Linked DNA regions of Homo sapiens: regions 1, 2, 3, 5 and 6 are each linked to region 4. Evidence: promoter capture Hi-C in 16 types of primary human blood cells and fetal thymus (Javierre and others, 2016). All regions are on one chromosome and are shown on one strand. The core of a region is centred on a gene start or on the middle of the fragment in contact, and the rest is flanking DNA. Distances in the headings are between cores, read along the strand shown. Region 1 holds the start of LOC107985155 (a long non-coding RNA gene). Region 2 overlaps COLEC12 (collectin subfamily member 12). Region 3 has its middle 44 kb from the start of THOC1. Region 4 holds the start of COLEC12 (collectin subfamily member 12). Region 5 overlaps CLUL1 (clusterin like 1). Region 6 has its middle 28 kb from the start of THOC1.

What was found. Contacts are between HindIII fragments. The CHiCAGO score rates a contact against its expected background, and 5 or more counts as called.
Region 1: a contact is called between a fragment that was not itself captured here and the fragment with the promoter of COLEC12 in region 4, in 5 of 17 cell types (monocytes, M1 macrophages, M0 macrophages and 2 more). The highest score is 15.3, in monocytes.
Region 2: a fragment that was not itself captured here is called in contact with the fragment with the promoter of COLEC12 in region 4 in 5 of 17 cell types (M1 macrophages, M2 macrophages, monocytes and 2 more); the score reaches 13.2 in M1 macrophages.
Region 3: a fragment that was not itself captured here is called in contact with the fragment with the promoter of COLEC12 in region 4 in 5 of 17 cell types (M2 macrophages, M0 macrophages, M1 macrophages and 2 more); the score reaches 24.1 in M2 macrophages.
Region 5: a fragment that was not itself captured here is called in contact with the fragment with the promoter of COLEC12 in region 4 in 1 of 17 cell types (M2 macrophages); the score reaches 6.0 in M2 macrophages.
Region 6: a fragment that was not itself captured here is called in contact with the fragment with the promoter of COLEC12 in region 4 in 5 of 17 cell types (M2 macrophages, M1 macrophages, M0 macrophages and 2 more); the score reaches 21.6 in M2 macrophages.

What each region holds. Positions count from the first base shown.
Region 1 is chr18:368,823-371,622 of GRCh38, reverse strand. All of the region lies in intron 2 of COLEC12 (collectin subfamily member 12), which reads left to right. LOC107985155 (a long non-coding RNA gene) reads right to left here and starts at 2,232. Exons shown (of 2, transcript XR_007066264.1): 1 at 1-2,232. The HindIII fragment of the contact is 1,993 bases long and covers 296-2,288 here.
Region 2 is chr18:352,061-354,760 of GRCh38, reverse strand. The region is part of intron 3 of COLEC12 (collectin subfamily member 12); the gene reads left to right. Among named protein-coding and RNA genes, the nearest start is that of THOC1, 85 kb to the right of the region's middle. The HindIII fragment of the contact is 4,508 bases long and covers 1-2,700 here.
Region 3 is chr18:310,508-313,207 of GRCh38, reverse strand. No RefSeq gene overlaps it. Among named protein-coding and RNA genes, the nearest start is that of THOC1, 44 kb to the right of the region's middle. The HindIII fragment of the contact is 5,054 bases long and covers 1-2,700 here.
Region 4 is chr18:499,275-501,974 of GRCh38, reverse strand. It overlaps COLEC12 (collectin subfamily member 12), which reads left to right and starts at 1,274. Exons shown (of 10, transcript NM_130386.3): 1 at 1,274-1,467. The coding sequence starts at 1,461. The HindIII fragment of the contact is 13,067 bases long and covers 1-2,700 here.
Region 5 is chr18:649,495-652,242 of GRCh38, reverse strand. CLUL1 (clusterin like 1) reads right to left here. Exons shown (of 10, transcript NM_001393344.1): 10 at 2,061-2,345. The coding sequence ends at 2,342. It overlaps TYMSOS (TYMS opposite strand RNA), which reads left to right. Exons shown (of 2, transcript NR_171001.1): 2 at 2,279-2,623. Among named protein-coding and RNA genes, the nearest start is that of TYMS, 6.8 kb to the left of the region's middle. The HindIII fragment of the contact is 2,566 bases long and covers 178-2,743 here.
Region 6 is chr18:294,326-297,054 of GRCh38, reverse strand. No RefSeq gene overlaps it. Among named protein-coding and RNA genes, the nearest start is that of THOC1, 28 kb to the right of the region's middle. The HindIII fragment of the contact is 3,078 bases long and covers 1-2,729 here.

The DNA.
Region 1 (2,800 bases), core at 43-2,542, 130 kb after region 4:
GATTTTCTTCTCTTTCTTTAAAAAAAAATTGTTTCTATCCCCTACTCTGTGATCCTTTCCATCCTACCCTAGGCCTGTGCAGCAGAAACCTTTGAAAGAAGGGGTCCTCCCTGCACCCCAGGGCCCTCCTGGAGTCCTGGCTTTTCCAGCTCCACTTGGATAAACATTTCTCTTCCGTGATTTGTGCCCAGTTGCGGCGTGTCTGGGAAGTGAGCAGGAGTAGAAACAGATGGATCTTCCACGGGCTCAAAGTCAAGAAGATTGACTTCTATGCAGTAGTCCTCTGGATAAAGCTTAGTAAACATATAATCACACCATCATCTGGGGCTCTGTATACCCTAGTAAATGAGTGCTTCTAATTTTATAAGCACTGTCATTACCACAGTTCTACATGAGATTTTTCCTTTGACTGTAGTATATGTTCTTTTGCTTTACTAGGTGTTGTTTATTAGGTGTTGTTTCCCCCAAGTACTGTAGAAAGTGACAGATTGTTTCAGGGCAACCAGTAGGTTGTATTTACAGGTGGTTGGCTGTCTTGACCAGCTTTGCTGCAATAACATAACTGCTTTCCAGCAGGAAGGAACATTGCATAGTAGTGAGGGCTGTGAAGTCCAGACTTCATTGTATTCTTCATTTAGGAACGAACATTTTCTGAATCACTGAATCCTTCTTTTTCAGTTCCTCTTCAGGTCTGTGCATAATGGGAAGGTGATGAATGAGCCCTGTCTTGGTGCATGACAAAGATGCAAAAATGGCATTCCTAGTCCATCATCAGCAGGACCTGAGCTTCTAGTTGCTTTTCCAGAGTAGGGTTGAGAGGCCTGGCTGCCCCAGGCAGGAAGAGCTCTGGCTAGGCACCATTTAGAAGGGGTATGCCTCCTAGATCCATCAAGCTGAGACCATCCCTGGGATCCCGTTGTGTGGTGGACCTCTCAAGACAAGTATCTCTTCTTAATGGAAGGGTCTCTCTTACCACAGGCTGTTTTAAAGAATAATAAGCAATGAACTCACAGTGTGTTCTAAACCGCATGCAGTGTACTGGGAGTTTATGTAAACAAATATATGCTGCAAATTAAAAATAAAATGTATGAGTGAATCCCTAGTGGGTGATTCTGGTACTAATTCCAAATTCCATATTCACCGGGGAAGTGGGGAACACCTTCAGCAAAGTGCGGATTGGACAGTGTTGTTAAGTCCTCACCCAAAGCCGCTTCTTCTTTAAGCCCGTTTAACCAGTTTACAACTGTAATTAGGAGCTGTTTGGCCATCGGGGAAATAAAATTCGTTTCTTTGGGCATGAAATACAATGAAGTGATTATACCATAAAAATTTCATATCATATGAAATTATATATGTATTTTCTGCATCTCTGATCTCCATTATTCACTTGTTTCCAGAGCTGGTGTGCTCCTGGTCACATTTTCTGATTCTCTGCTGTAAGAGCTGAAGTTCAAAAGGCCTTCTGCCTGCACTGTGAATGGCTCAGCTGGTAGAATCTGATTTTTTCCTATTTTGATTTCTGAGTCTGCTGCTTTTACAGTCATTTATGCATCTCATGAATGTAATGAAGTGTTGCTTTCCTCTGAACTCTTGTATTTTTTTCTGCCTTGTAGGTCGGGTTTTAATCCCTGCATGATTTTGAGAGGTAAACAGAATATCTTCCAGATCGGGGTTGCTCTTCATAATCCTTTCCTCGGTGGTGATTCCTCCATCTGAATCCAAATGTGTCCTCCATAGCTGCCTGTCCTAGGCTGATTCACCAGGGCTCCACATCTTGACTTTGCTATGCCACCTCATTTCCACGTGAGAAGGAAGTGCACGTTCAGGGTGGTTGGTCAGAGTTAAGTCAGCCTGTATCCGTGGGGTGAAATTAACAGACATGTGGGAATTGAACCTTAAACATTCTCAGTTTCACTAGGAACCTAAAATTATAATCACGCCACAGAGATTGTAAATTTGAAATTTACCTTGTTTCCATGGAAATTTTGAATTCAAAACATTTAATGTGTAAAATATCACTAGTAAGAGGGCACATAGCATTGGGAGATATACCTAATGCTAGATGACACGTTAGTGGGTGCAGCGCACCAGCATGGCACATGTATACATATGTAACTAACCTGCACAATGTGCACATGTACCCTAAAACTTAAAGTATAATAAAAAAAAAAAACATTATTCCAAAAAAAAATAAAAATAAAAATAAAAATAAAAATAAAAAAAAATAAAAAAAAAAAGATCTGTATCACCTCCGGGGAAGGAAAGGAACGATGCTTCATGTCCAAGCTTGGTGGTGCCAGTGATCCTGAACTTCTCAAGTAATTAGTCTATATGGACAGATTAGTTCTTTACTTGTTTAAATGCAATGGATCAGTTGCATTAAGTGGTATGTGCTCTTTACTTGTTTAAATGCAATGGATCAGTTGCATTAAGTGGTATGTGCATTGAGTGGTAGGCTGGCAAATGGTAAGGGCGCTGAGTGGAATGCTGGCAAATGTTTAACAGCCGGCTCTCCAGAAGGCAAAAGCCCTGATTTGGAGCTTTTTGCTGATTTCAATGGTGTGAATACTTCCAGCATGACCAATTTCATGCTACCAATATAAAGTCACTGAACATAGAGTTGTGAAGAGATAACAACAATTGGGGGTCACCAGTCAGTATAAGCTGGCTCCAGTCACGCCCATGATAAACCCATGGGAAATTGTGATTTTTGAATTTTTTTTGTTTTGTTTTTGTGTTTTGTTTTGTTTTGTTTTTGAGACGGAGTCTCGCTCTGTTGCCCAGGCTGGAGTGCAGTGAC
Region 2 (2,700 bases), core at 63-2,562, 150 kb after region 4:
AAAAAGATAATACAACATGCACTTTTGCTTTCCAAACACACCATTAATGAACTAAAATGTTGATATTTTCCAGATGTGCTTTCTCTTTACTCACACAGTGACTCCTCTTTCTTGCTGGTAAGATTCTAGTGACCCAATGTTGTAAGAGGCAGAAAGATAAAACCCAGTTCTCCCTTCACACATTCCCCCTTTGAAGTCTAGAGAAACTCTCTCCGTTACAAAAGAAAGAAAGAAAAGAATATTCAATGAAAGAAACACAATAAGGCATTCCTCTGAAGGAGAAATCGAAAGGAAAGGAGTAAAAACTTTTATTTATCAGAGCTGGCAAAGGCAACTTCATACTGTTTTGCTCAAAATTGTTCTTTTCTTCTTTCATGTCACTTACATAGCCACAAGTTAGAATACAATGAGCTTCCATCAAGAGAATTTGCTGAAGAAGCCAGAGAATCGCTCAGTCACCCAGACAGGGTCTGTGCAGTGGTCGTGACTGTGAGGCGTATCAGCCACTTTGCAGAAAACATGTTCTTGGACAGTTGAGCTTGGTACATCCTCTGCCCCGGGCTTTTTATCATTAGTCAACAGAGCTTCCATAGCAGGAGTCATCTCTTAAGTTCAATGTGTCATGTTTCTTCCAGAATATTTCCTGAACAGGAAAATCCTACTCCATTATCCTTTCCAACAGGCAACCTTCTAAAGGTAATTAGGAAAAAGAAAAAAGACAGAAATCTGAATCTTTCTCAATAAGGATCTCCTTTAATTCAACATTCCTAGTCACTGGTAGTCTACTTTGCTGCTAAGCTGGGTCAGTGTAGCAGTTTACAACTGGATTACTATTTAGGCTTTCAAAATACACATCAAATCACACTGGAGAGCGCTTTAGGATCCAGGATAACACCCTACAATCAGATTTTCTGTATTTCTGTAAGGAAACCTAAAATGGTGTTCAAGGTAGAAATGCCTTTATTAAATTCCAGAGGAGTGTAACTAATGTTACTGGGAAGCCCCAGGTCCCAGAGAGAGGAAGTATTTATCCCACAGTGCCATGATCAGTCTGGTACAAAAACGTGTGAGCACCAGCTAGGAGCTCTGTGCTCTGTCCTCAGGGCCGAGACCATGGCCTGTGTCTCTTGAATCCTCAATGTCTAGCACTATGCCACCTACATGGCAGATACTTGGTAAATGTCTGGTGATGTTAACTTTAAAGAGAATATAAACAGAAATAATTCTTCCCCTTAAGGGATTCTTTATTGGAGGAAACCAGATTTAGGAAAAAGAAATACCAAAAGAGAGGTGATACGGAGTCATAGAAAGAGCATGGATTTTGGAGTTAAACCTTCCAGCCTGGTATCCCACATAGTCACTGACAAGCTGTGTGACTTTTTAGCAAGTTACTGAACATCTGTGAGCCTCAATCTCTTCATCTACAAAACAGCAGTTGGAAGGATTAACTGCAGTGATGGTGTAGTGCATCCGGCAAAGAGCAGGCACTCGATAAATAGAGGCTATTATTATTATCATTCAAATAAAGATCGAGTTGGTGTGCAGTGGAATCAACTTGTAGGTGTGGCTGAGTACAATGGGGTAGTGAGGTGTGGAGCGGACCTTCAAGGAGAAGTGGAGTCAAGACGAGGGAAGAAGAAGTTAGTGGCCCAGGCCAAGGGATGATACCGAAGTGCTTTTATAAAAAAGGTTTTATTGTCAGAGTATCCTAGAGAATTATACTTTGGATACTTGAAGAGGGACAGATCTTCAGGTATAATACCTGAAACACCAATATTCTGTAGAAAAATTCTACCTTAAGAAACAATTCCCAATACAGGAGAGCCTATGAGAAACCAGACTGCTGGTCACCCTTCTGTGTATCCTGCTCATTTTTCTCATGTGAGAATGGTCTGCAAACTGAGGTCTATGTCTATAGACTGGGAATTTCCAGGGTAATACAGGATGGCTCTGCGACTGTATTCCTGATTGAGAATTGGTGCTAATAAATTCAGAATAAAAGTCAATGAAAGTGCTGTGTGCTGTTACAGCAAGGGTAAGTTCTGGATCTCCACCAGTCTGGTATTTTTATGCAGTAGCAGGTTCCAGCATTGCAATCCTAACATTTCCAGCTTTATACCAGATCCTATTGTTAAACAAAGACACACACCCCCCAGTGCATGTAAACTGTTCATTAGCACTTGTGGGCAGGGAAAATAGTTTCCTTTTGCTGCACAGAAGAAAACGTCGACAGATTTTTTTTGTTCTTTTTTTTAATGAATGTATTTATCCCTTTTGTATTTATTCTACACAAACCTGAGTTATCTGTCCATGACAGTTCTCTGTTTTTCAAAACTAAAATGGAAGAAAAAGTAGAAAGGGTAGAAAATGACTGACTGTCAGCATATTTGAAGGTTTCTTTGGCTTCCAGGAAAGAAGGGCAGGACTTGAGATCCTGCATGTGGTTTGAGGACAGACCGAGGCATATGTTTTGATTTGAGGATCAAAACTGAACCTAAACCTGTAAACATTCTGTATTTTAGTTCTTAAAAATTAGCTTTGCTAAAAACACATATGCAACATTTTATTCTTGAGAGTTTCCAGGGATTTAGGAGTATGTGTACCTATGAAGCAACCCTAAGGTACAGATTATTAGAACTGCATCTCTCTGTCTATGTAGTAATTTTAAAAATAATAATTACTCAGCGAAATGTCATACTC
Region 3 (2,700 bases), core at 50-2,549, 190 kb after region 4:
TCTTTGGGTATGAGTGTAGAAGTTCCTATCAATTTGTATTAAATATAGATTTGGCTGCTGAAATAAAGACCCAAAGTGATAGCAGGTGAATAAGATAGATGCATCTCTCCCTGGCCCTAATTTTACGTATGCAACTAGCCCAGGGAGCCGCACTGTGACTATCTCGTTGTCCTGCAGTCTCTCAGCCAGTGCCCTCGTTTGCATTGTCCAAAAGGGCTCAGCACCACATCCACAGTCCAGGCAGTGGGCTTAAGAGAGGGGTGATGAAATGAAATTTCTCCCTTTAAGGGCAGAATTTGCATTCGTCATTTCCACTCACATCTCTTTAACCAGAACGTAGTCACATAGCCTCACCTAGTTGCAAGGGAGGCTGAGAAATACAGTCTTTAGCTGGGAATTACAGTTAGATGCCAAGCTAAAAATTCCATGCCTATGCAAGGAAGGAAGAATGGATATGGGTGGAGAGGAGCATAAATGGCATTTGCACCATTCACAGCTGCCCTCCTGAATCCGCCTCCTATGGGACAGATTTTCCACCTTGCCCTCCTGTGGAGACTTCAGTGGATTTAATTACTGGCTCCATTCTTCACAGCTCCCCATATCTACCCTCTTTGCCATGTAACCTGGCAGCTCCCCCTCTCTATGGGAGGAGTGTACTTTCCTGCCCTTTGACTTGGGCTCAGTCACGCGCCTTGCTTTGGCCAATGTTGGTGGATGTGATACAGCCAAAGCCTTGGAAAGCACCAGGGTCACTGGGCTTGCCCTCTTGCATATCTGCCATCACCGTGCAGAGTTCCCCTGGCCTTCGCCTCTGTTCCTGTGGCCAGGGCCCTAGAGTGAACACACCTGGAACAAAGCTGCCCCAGCCAAACAGACCTGTGATGAGAAGCAGAGCCAGCCCAACCTTCAGAGCCTGCAGCAAAGCAGTCCCACCAAGCCCAGCTGAGATCAGTCAACCCAGACTGTGAGAATAAATGCTTAATGCTGTATATATATATATCCCATGGAGATTTGGGTTGTTCATTACACAGCATCATTGGGGCAACAGCTAACATACGGGTCCTTGGGCCCTAACCTAGCAGCTGTCTATGTGGCTCTTTTCTATTTGTCCCTTCAGATCCCATCTCCACACTTTTCCACCATTCTCTGGGCTTCAGGGAGATAGATATTTACAGGTTCCCTTGGCTTCTGGCAACCAGTTGTGTTTGGACAATGAGAGGCACTGGCAGGAGAAAGTGAAGTTGAGGTGTTTATTTCCCTGGTTTCCTCTCTGAAGGTCACCAGGAATAGATTTTATCTCTCTGCCAAAGGCCATATCTCCCATCAGTTGGTCCAGCACTCTCTCCTGCCAGTGCCACTGCATGCCCAGGCTGGAGTGTGGTGGCATGATCTCGATTCACTGTAACCTCGACCTGTTGCACTCAAGGTATCCTCCCACCTCAACCTCTCAAGTAGCTGGGACTACAGGCGCTCACGACCATGCCTGGTTAATTTTTATATTTTTTTAGAGGCAGGGTTTTACCATTTTGCCCAGGCTGATCTCGAACTCGTGGGCTCAAGCAATCTGCCCATCTTGGCCTCCCAAAGTGCTTGGATTACAAGTGCGAGCCACCACACCAGCCTCGTCCGGCTCTCTGTCCAGCTCCAGGAGTAGCAACCTCCTCTTGCCCCTAGTGATACTCTCAGCTGCCATTAGCCAAAGATCCTGCACTATCCTTTGTTGTTTTCCCTAAGGCCTGCCCACATCTTTGTCAATTGCCCCTTTATTAAACTCTCCTCAATTACCCAGCCTGAGTGTGCCATCTTTTTCTTGTGGAAACCTGATTAACACCCCCACCTCTTGACCGCACCCACTTTCATGGCTTGAGGGCCTCTGCTCATCCTATTCCTGGCCTGCACTTTACCACATAATGCATCCCCTTCTTTTCATGGGTGCAAACATGAGTCCCCTTTCAGGGCACAGCCCATATCCCCCCCTTCCTCCATATTCTCCATCTCCCAGCAAGCCTCTCCTAAGATCCACTGCCTGCACCACACCATCAAGGCTTTGTTTCATACAAAAGTACAGCAGTCTCTGAATTGCTCAGGGGGCCCTGGGAAGACTGTGAAGGTGCCACAGTGAATGGGAGGAGAGTATTTGCAGAGCAGGTGGAATTCTGGATCACTAGTCAGAAGGACTACATATGTATGTCATATGTGTGATTTCACTTCAGGTTCACTGTTTCTAAAGAGTTTGAAAATGTTGATGCAGTACACTAGTCTTCAACTTTGTATGGATATAAATCTAATCTACCCAAAATGAATAAAACAAATTTAAATATCTCTCAAATCAAGGAATTTTTGTTCTCCCTTTATTATAAGGCATAGAATAGGGGCCAATGAAGGATAGAAGGATGGATGGATGGAGGGAAGGATGGATGGATGCATGGATGAATGAATGCATAGATGGATGGATGGATGGATCCATGGATGAATGGATGGATGGATGCAGGGATGCATGAATGAATGAATGGGGGGACTTGGTCCTCACCATAAGCAGTTTCTCCATAGCTTCTTCCCCCTCCTCATGGTCTGTAGGAATATGTCATTTTGATTCCCCACAAATCATACTGGAAGCATCTCTCCTGGCACCTTGACCAAACTCTGAAAGGCCAAGTAAAAGGGACTGAAGGTCAGAAGGATGTGGGACAGGTTGGCTGG
Region 4 (2,700 bases), core at 25-2,524:
GAGATCTGAAACATGCTCCAGGACCAGGACCCTGTAGTTTCATCAACTGCAGACAGTGCGGGGGAAAAAGCATTTCGGTCTTTTCATTTGTTCGTCATGTTCAAGGTGCCCCCTTATGTTAAAAAATTAAAAAAAAAAAAAAAGAAAGAAAAAAGAAATCTCCTGGAACGGAGAATCTATGAAATGTTTCAATATGTATTCATTTTGGGGCACTACCTTTTACTAGAGCAAAGAATCCCCTACTTAGAGGGAACCAATGGATTGGTTACACCGTGTTACCAAGTCCTCAGGAGGGCAAACTGAAAAGCTGCAAGCACTGCCCGGCCAGTGTTCGATTGCTTTTGGTGGACTAGTGCGTCTGAGTAGCCATCTGTAATGTCAACATGTGGCAGAAAGTTTCTCCGCACCTCCCTCGCCCCAGCTCCACTCACCACTTAGTGTATGTTTTAAAGCAATAAAGCGATGGGTCTGCTTAGAGGGGGTTCTAAAGAGAAAGATAAACACGGGCTTTATTAAGTATACAGCAGGGCAATGTGACGGGCGACCACGAAGGGAACTCAGGGAGCCTCTCAGCAGCCCGGCCTCCTTTCGTAACAAAACTGGAGTCAACCCGATCATTTTAGGGGCGCTGGGTGGAAGGCTGGCTTTTCCAGCCAAGGCAGGATGTGCTGGCTTTTTCTCTGGAGGTGTCCAAGAGCGCAGAGAGAGTGTCTAATGGTGACTTCGGATTCTGGCCACTCGGGCTCTCCCTGGGTGACAGAGAGAGTGTTCCCTGCTGCTTGGTCTCCTTCAGGCGTCAACCAGCGCACGCACTTGGAAACTCTGAACCCGGAGGACGTTCTGTACCTCTCCATGCCCCAGAGCCGTTTGGGGAAGGGCCCACCTTACCCCCCGCCACCCCCGGGGCACAGCAGCTCCCCATCCTCTCGCCCAACACTTGCTAGGTAGTTTGGGGTGTAGAAGCGACCCCAGCAGCAGCGGCACCTTAGGTGCTCGCCGAAGGTGAACGCTGGACCGCCCCGGGAAGGGCTTTGCTCCCGACTTCATCCCGACGCTGGTGCAACGGGAAAAAGAGAGAGCCCGCGCGAGTGGGGCCAGGGCGCGCAGGAGAGGGCGGGCGAGAAAGTGCCCGGCGAGGGCAGGCGCGGGCCGAGGGCGGGGCGGGCGCGGGAGGGCGCGAGAGGGGCGTGGGCGCGGCCGCTCGCTCGGCCGGGTCGGGCCAGGGGGAGGGGCGCTGGGAGAGCGAGAGCGGCGCGCGCGGCAGCCCCGAGGCAGCAGAGCGCGGAGCCGGGAGCGCGGGGAGCGCGGGCCGGCGGCGGCGAGGGAGGACGGGGGCGCAGACGGCCGGCGCGCGGCGCGGCTACCATGGGCGTGCGGTGAGCAGCCGCTCGGGACGACTTCCTCGGCTGCGCGGCGCTCGCGCGGAGCTCCCCGGCCGGCGGTGCGTCCCCACGGTCACCATGAAAGGTAGGGCGGCGGCAGCTCCGCGGGGCTCTGGGCGGGGGGAACGGGCTTCGGGGCGCGCGGGAGGCCACGGAGGTGCCTCCCGCGCGAACCTTCCCTTGGGCTGCGGGCCCGGGGAGTCGGGGCTGCCAGGGCGCCGGGTTCGTGCGCGGACACTGGGGGCGCACCCGGCTCCCGGGTCAGGCGCGGCTGGAGACCTCGAGGTTGGGGTTTTGAAGCGCGCAAGTATTCCCCTCCCCATCGCGTCTTTGCAAGTAGTTTGAAGCCCTAAGTCGTTGTTTACGGATTCCCGTTTCCAACTTTTTAATTGAAAAAACCTGCCGAGGAGAGTGGAGGCATCGCCATCCCTCCCGGTCGCTTTTCCACGCCGCAGCGCTCCCCACGCTCGCCCAGTCCTCTCTCCTCCCGCCTCTAGCCGTTTCCCGGCCCGAGCGGTCCCCGCGCTGGCGGCCGGGTGTTTTCTCCGGGACTGGGGATGTTCTCCGTGCGCCCTCGCCACATCTGGCAATGATTAGGTGCCCGAGGAGTTCAGCTGGCTCGGGAAGTGCATTTGGCATCTTTCTCCATCAGATTCACCGACTGGAAAATAGTTGCCCTCGGTTCCGCGTCCCTTCCACGTGCCCGCCTTGGGGTGTGCCCACTGGTGTTTTGGGGTGACACACCTCAGCTGGTTAGTCGCCCCCTGCGCGGTGTCCTCTGCAGGCCGGTTTATGGAAGTGTCAGATGTTATCGTACTTTAGAAAGAAGCACGAGAAGGACTGCAGGGCAGCCTTCTGTTTAGTGGAAACACGGAGATTTGTCAGCGGAATCCTGATTTATGTATGAGATAAGTAACCGCAGCGGAGGCATCAAAGAGTCGTTCAGGAATGGGCCCGCGTGGTGTTTACACAAGGCTTCGTGTGAGAGTTGCTGGTTCTGTGCTAGGATAACACAGCCCTGCGTGGGTGCGAAATGCCATCTGACCGCGGTCACCCCGCTTCCAGCCGCCACAGACCTGGCGATGCAATCGCTTTGACTTCTAGGGTTGCCGTCCGAGGGAGGCGCCCGGGAAGCCCCAAGGCGCTTGGAAAGTAACTTTTGGCTCTGGAAAGTTTTTTTTCTGAAGGGCAGCTCCCGCGGAACTAACCGGAGCGATGATATCCTACCAATTCACTCCCTTTCCAAGGGCGTTAGGTGTCCACGTCGGGAGACCTCGGGAAGGGAGGTGACTGATGGCCAGGTGAAAAGTGGTCTGCC
Region 5 (2,748 bases), core at 211-2,710, 150 kb before region 4:
CTAGTGTACTTTAATTACCTTATAGATGACACTGAGATTAAGGATCTTGGCCAAAGTGACACATCTGGAGAATATAGTAGCCAGGATGAAAATCCAGTTCAGCCTGCATGCAAAATCTTCTTTCCATTTAGCTGTTTTGAGCCTCACTTCCCCCACTCTCTTTCCACTCTATAAGCTTTTGATAGCTCATTGGATAGAAAATAGGTTCTCTTAATCACTTATTTTTTTGTCACCTTCACTAACAAATATTTAAAATCTATGGTTGAATAGACTGTATTTGAGATTTATTGCACACCGAAGAACCCAGGATTCTATTAGTTCCCTGCCAGGAGCAGTGGCTCATGCCTGTAATTACAGCACTTTTGGAGGCTGAGGCGGGCAGATTGCTTGAGCCTGGGAGTTTGAGACCAGCCTGGACAACATGGAGAAACCCCATCTCTACTAAAAAAATACAAAAATAGACGGGCATGGTAGTACCTGTAGTCCCAGCTACTCAGGAGGCTGAGGTGGGAGGATCACCTGAGCCAAGGAGGTCAGGCTTCAGTGAGCCCAGATCATGCCACTGCACTCCAGCCTGGGCAATAGAGTAAGACCCTGTCTCAAAAAAAAAATAACATAATTCTCATTTTTTATAGCCTTCAGTTATGATTTAGAAAAGGTTTATCTTCATTTGGAGTTAATTATATTCAATTGGCTGCCTCTGAACTCTAACTTTCTCTGACAAGCCTTTCTGTCAGATAGATCAAGACTGGGTGAAAAGTTCTTTAAAAGTTCAGAGTTCTCTCTCTTTCATTACGTTTCTTTTATATATTTATTTATTTATTTATTTATTAAAAAAGAGTCTCGCTCTGTTGCCCAGGCTGGAGTACAGTGGCACAATCTTGGCTCAGTGCAACCTCTGCCTCCCAGGTTCAAGCAATTCTCCCATCTCAGCCTCCTGAGTAGCTGGGATTACAGGCATGCGCCACCACACCTGGCCAATTTTTGTATTTTTAGTAGATACAGGTTTTCACCATGTTGGCCAGGCTGGTTTCGAACTCCTGTCCTCAGGTAATCCACCCACCTTGGCCTCCCAAAGTGCTGGGATTACAGGTGTGAGGCACCGTGCCTGGCCTACATTTCTTTTTATAATTTGTAATACTGACTGTATATACTCTCATTGTAATCCTTAGTGATATATACTGACACATAGCTCTCCTATTATTGTGTTGCACCAAGGTCCAAATTATGAGGTTGAGCGTCAGCCAGGAAAATCTTGTGTTTTCCATAAAATACGTATGTCAAAAGACAGCGCTGTTGTGCCAATTTTAAAAAGTAACTATGTAGCACACCCACGTTCAAAACAGCATTATTCACAATAGCCAAAAGATGGAAGCAACCCAAGTGTCCATCAATGGCTGAATGGATAAGCAAAACTAGGTAAATACATGCAAGAATATTAGCCTAAAAAAGGAAGTTCTGAGACATGCAACAACATGGATGAACCTTGAAAACATGGCACTAAGTGAAATAAACCAGTCACAAAAGGACACTGTGATTGCACCACTGCACTCCAGCCTGGGCGACAGAGTGAGACCCTGTCTTAGAAAACAAAAAACAAAACAAAACAAAGCAAAAGACAAATACTGTATGATTCCACCTACATGCAGTACCTAGAGTAGTCAAATTCATAGAAAGTACAGTCGTGGTTGCTACGGGCTGGGGGATGGGGAAAAGGGAAGTGAGTGCTTAACGAGTACAGAGTTTCAGTTTAGGAAGATAAAAAGGTTCTGAAGATGGACGGTGGTGATGGTTGCACAGCAACGTGAGTGTACTTAATGCCACAAATTGTGCACTTTAAAATGGTTAAAATGGTAAATTAATGCCATGTGTATTTTACCACAATTTAAAAAAAGACTATACAGAACCTATTGGTCTTTACAAAACAAAGCAATGAATCTTAGATTTTTTTCCAAAAAAGTCAATTATATATATTTTAAGTGCAAAAGCAAACTAAAGGAAGAACATTTTGTTAATTAGGAAGTGACATGTTTGTAGATGTGATAGAACATAGACACCTAGGTGATTTAGTATTTATTCAATATACAAAGAACTACTAATGTACCATGAAATGTAATACATATTACGTTTGATTTTTTAAGGAGGAATTTTCATTTTAACTCAATTTGAGTATTAATAGCTAAGCCATTCAACATAAGTAAACTAAGAGTACTTCATAGTATATAGCTAACATACTTTCCTGCAACTGTGTTTATTGCATTATCCTTTTTTATTTCAGGATTTCCAGGTCCCAGATGAAGAGATAATTCTACTTACTGGATATAGGATGCATTAGATCTTCTTACCTTAAAAAAAAAAAAAAAGGCAGCAATGATCAAAATACTAATAAATTACTCACAGACTCAGTGTATTTTTTCTTGGAGTAAAAGTCCAGGATGGGTAATAGAATACCTGCTGTTGGCTTTTGGAAAAATTGGTACTGTATGTAGCAAAATAATGTGAAACCCATATGCATGGATATTCTTAACAATTTGAAGAAATCGTCACAGCTTTCCTGGGTTGTTGAGCCTCTAAGATGGTCTTTTCCTCTGATGTGATAATAAAGTGTTTATTCTGAACTCTACATGCACGTAGTGTTTGGTCAGTAAACTTCTGTTACTCATGACTCATTACATTAGTCAACAAATTTTGTATATTTGCCTTTCACGATGATGATGATGGTAAGAGCCCATCTACAAAAGCTTATTA
Region 6 (2,729 bases), core at 54-2,553, 200 kb after region 4:
ACTGATAAGAGCAGTGGATCTCATGACCATGTGCCCATTGCTACAATCGGGTATTCTGTAAGTGCTGGGATGGGTGCTAACCGAGACATATGGGCAGCATAGGTAATCGATTCTGATAAAGACAAAGTGAAATTGAAATCAATCTGCTACCAAGTGGCTGGTCTGGTCTCCTTAAGAAATGGTGTCATGGTGAAGGCTCAGCATTAGCTGTCCACATCCACAAAAGGAGACATCCTGTCCACTTTATTGTTCAGAGCTTCCTCTATAGTGGGAGCTCCCTGGTGGGCATTAATTTAATCTAAGTTACAAAGATACACATACTTTGTGTCTGCAACTGTAGGTTCATCCTCATGCTTCTCCCTTACATTTTCTTTTCACGGACCTTCCTATCTGGTTCCTTCTGGGCCCTGACCACTTAAGCAGCCAAGCCATTCATCCTTGCCCCAGAGTCCATGCCAATCTGTTCTCAGGCCATTTCTCCCTGTTTATAAAGTGAACCACCAAGTGTACAGCTTACATTTCTGCCCATGTTCCTTAGGGCCACCCCAAGAGGGACTATATTGTAGCAGCAGTCCATTTTCAGCAAGCACCAAGACCCTGTGATCTTTCTCTTTCACCCTGCTGGTAAGTGGTAGGTAGCTGGTTAATTCTCCTGCCGTGGTAAGTTCAGGGCAGATATGTGATGTGAGACTCTTTGGTACTTAAGTTTGTGCGTTTCCTTGGCAACTTACCCTGGGAGTAATGCGAGGCTGTGGAATCCATAGTTTCTCCCATAAGCTCTTTGCCCAGTGGGTGGTCACTCCTACTCTAGTGACTGGCCAGAACATGACACCCTCTATGGAGCAGATCAGAAAAAATGCCTATAGTGCCAGATCCCACTCTGCCTAGTTTTCAGGTGCACACTTTAGGCTGTGGCTGTTATTGCCCATTTGGAAGCCACTGCTATAGAAGAATGAAAAACCACAATTTGGATTGGGCCAATCCTGGCTCACAAATTGTGTTCCAGCCAGCTGAGACACTGGCATCTCCTAGGAGAAGAGAAAAGTTAAGAAATCTGCAAGAGGTCTGCCTTGTGTTGATTTTTCCAGGGATTTAGAAGTTGCTGGATGCTTCAAAGTATTGAGTGACTAATTTCCCTTCCTTTTTTCTAAAATCTCACATGGTGAGCATTTGTTTCCTGAAAACCTGCCAAAACAATAATTTTTTTCAGAGGTGGCATATTATTTTAAAATGTAAAATGAAGTCCTGATAGCAAATATTATCAATATAGGTACTTGAATCTGCATATAGCAACTTAAGAAGTATTGCCTTCTTTTGGTTTAGGGGCTTGGGGGAGAGAGAGAGAGAGAGAGAGAGAGAGAGAACTTGCAATGTTTCCGAAGTTCTTATATTTCTGAAATTCAGGCTTGCTTATGAGATGAGAACAGTCAATCCAGGACAGTTGGCAACTCCAGGTAAAAATGAGCCTATGATTTTCTTTTAGTTGTGTTATTACACCTCTTGAGCCAGGGTTGCAAACTGGCTGTGTCCTGGAGAAAGAAGAGAACTGGACACCACCCACACCTTCCTTTAGGGAGGCCTCCAGACAGCCTGGAGCAGGGCCATGCTGGAACTGACCATGCCGGGCCTCCCTGAGCTGTCCTGAATCACAGTAGTACCCTCCAAACCAATGTTCACATAAGTCTACTCTGCACAGGCCTGTCTAGGTGCAGATGCAGATTTGCTACATGGGTGCCTGTCCATGTCATAAGAAGTTAGCCAGGAGGATGGTGATAAAACAGTATGGGAAACCACTACCTGTTCTTGCCATTTAGTAAAGGTGTAGGGGGAAGGACTTAAAATTCTTCTATTGGGTACTGTGGTGTGTTCACTAGCTGGGTGATGGGATCAACGAAGCCCAAACCTCAGCATCATGCAATATACCCTTGTAACAAACCTGCACATGTGCTCCCTGAATCTAGAATAAAAATAAAAGGTATGAAAAGAAAAAAAAAGAAGTAAATGTGCACTTAATCTGGAATTTTAAAACATTTTCCAAAAATAATCACAAATCTTATTTTAAAAGAAACTGTAAATGCCTTGTGTATTATGAAATTTCTTTGATTAATAAGTCATGTTATTTATGAACTTTTGCAGGATCAACCTTTCAACCTACTGTACAAATTACCAATTGATCATTTGGGAAAGGAACCAAAGGAAGTCCTTTTCATCACACTAATGCAAAAAGACACACAAAGCATGACCCAGATATTAAAGAGGGGTCAGCACTTTTAGCGGATGCCATTCATGGTTGAACCGAGGAGGCTGCTGTCTGGGAGCCTTAAAAACAAAGAAAATGATGAAGGAAAGGTCGGGGAAAATACTGGCCAGGGTGAGACACAATGGTGAGATCAGGAGGATCTGAAAGGGGTCTGACTTCAATAAAAAGACAAGATGTAGAAGGATCCCATTTTTCTAGCTTCTTCCCCACTCTCCTAAAAATTTGAATCCAAATAGACAGCATCCGTGATTGCAATGTATGTACCCTTTCCATCATGGTTCCATCAATTAGAAGAAGAAGGCAGTAATTAGGATGATACTAGTTGCTATAACAAACAGACCCTTATAATAGTATATAAGGTTCAAAGACAAATAGAAGTTTACTTCTTGCCCTAATTCAGTGTGAGGTAGATATTCCTAGTTGCTTGACAGCTCTCTTCCACATAGTGATTCAGGAACCCAGGTTCTGT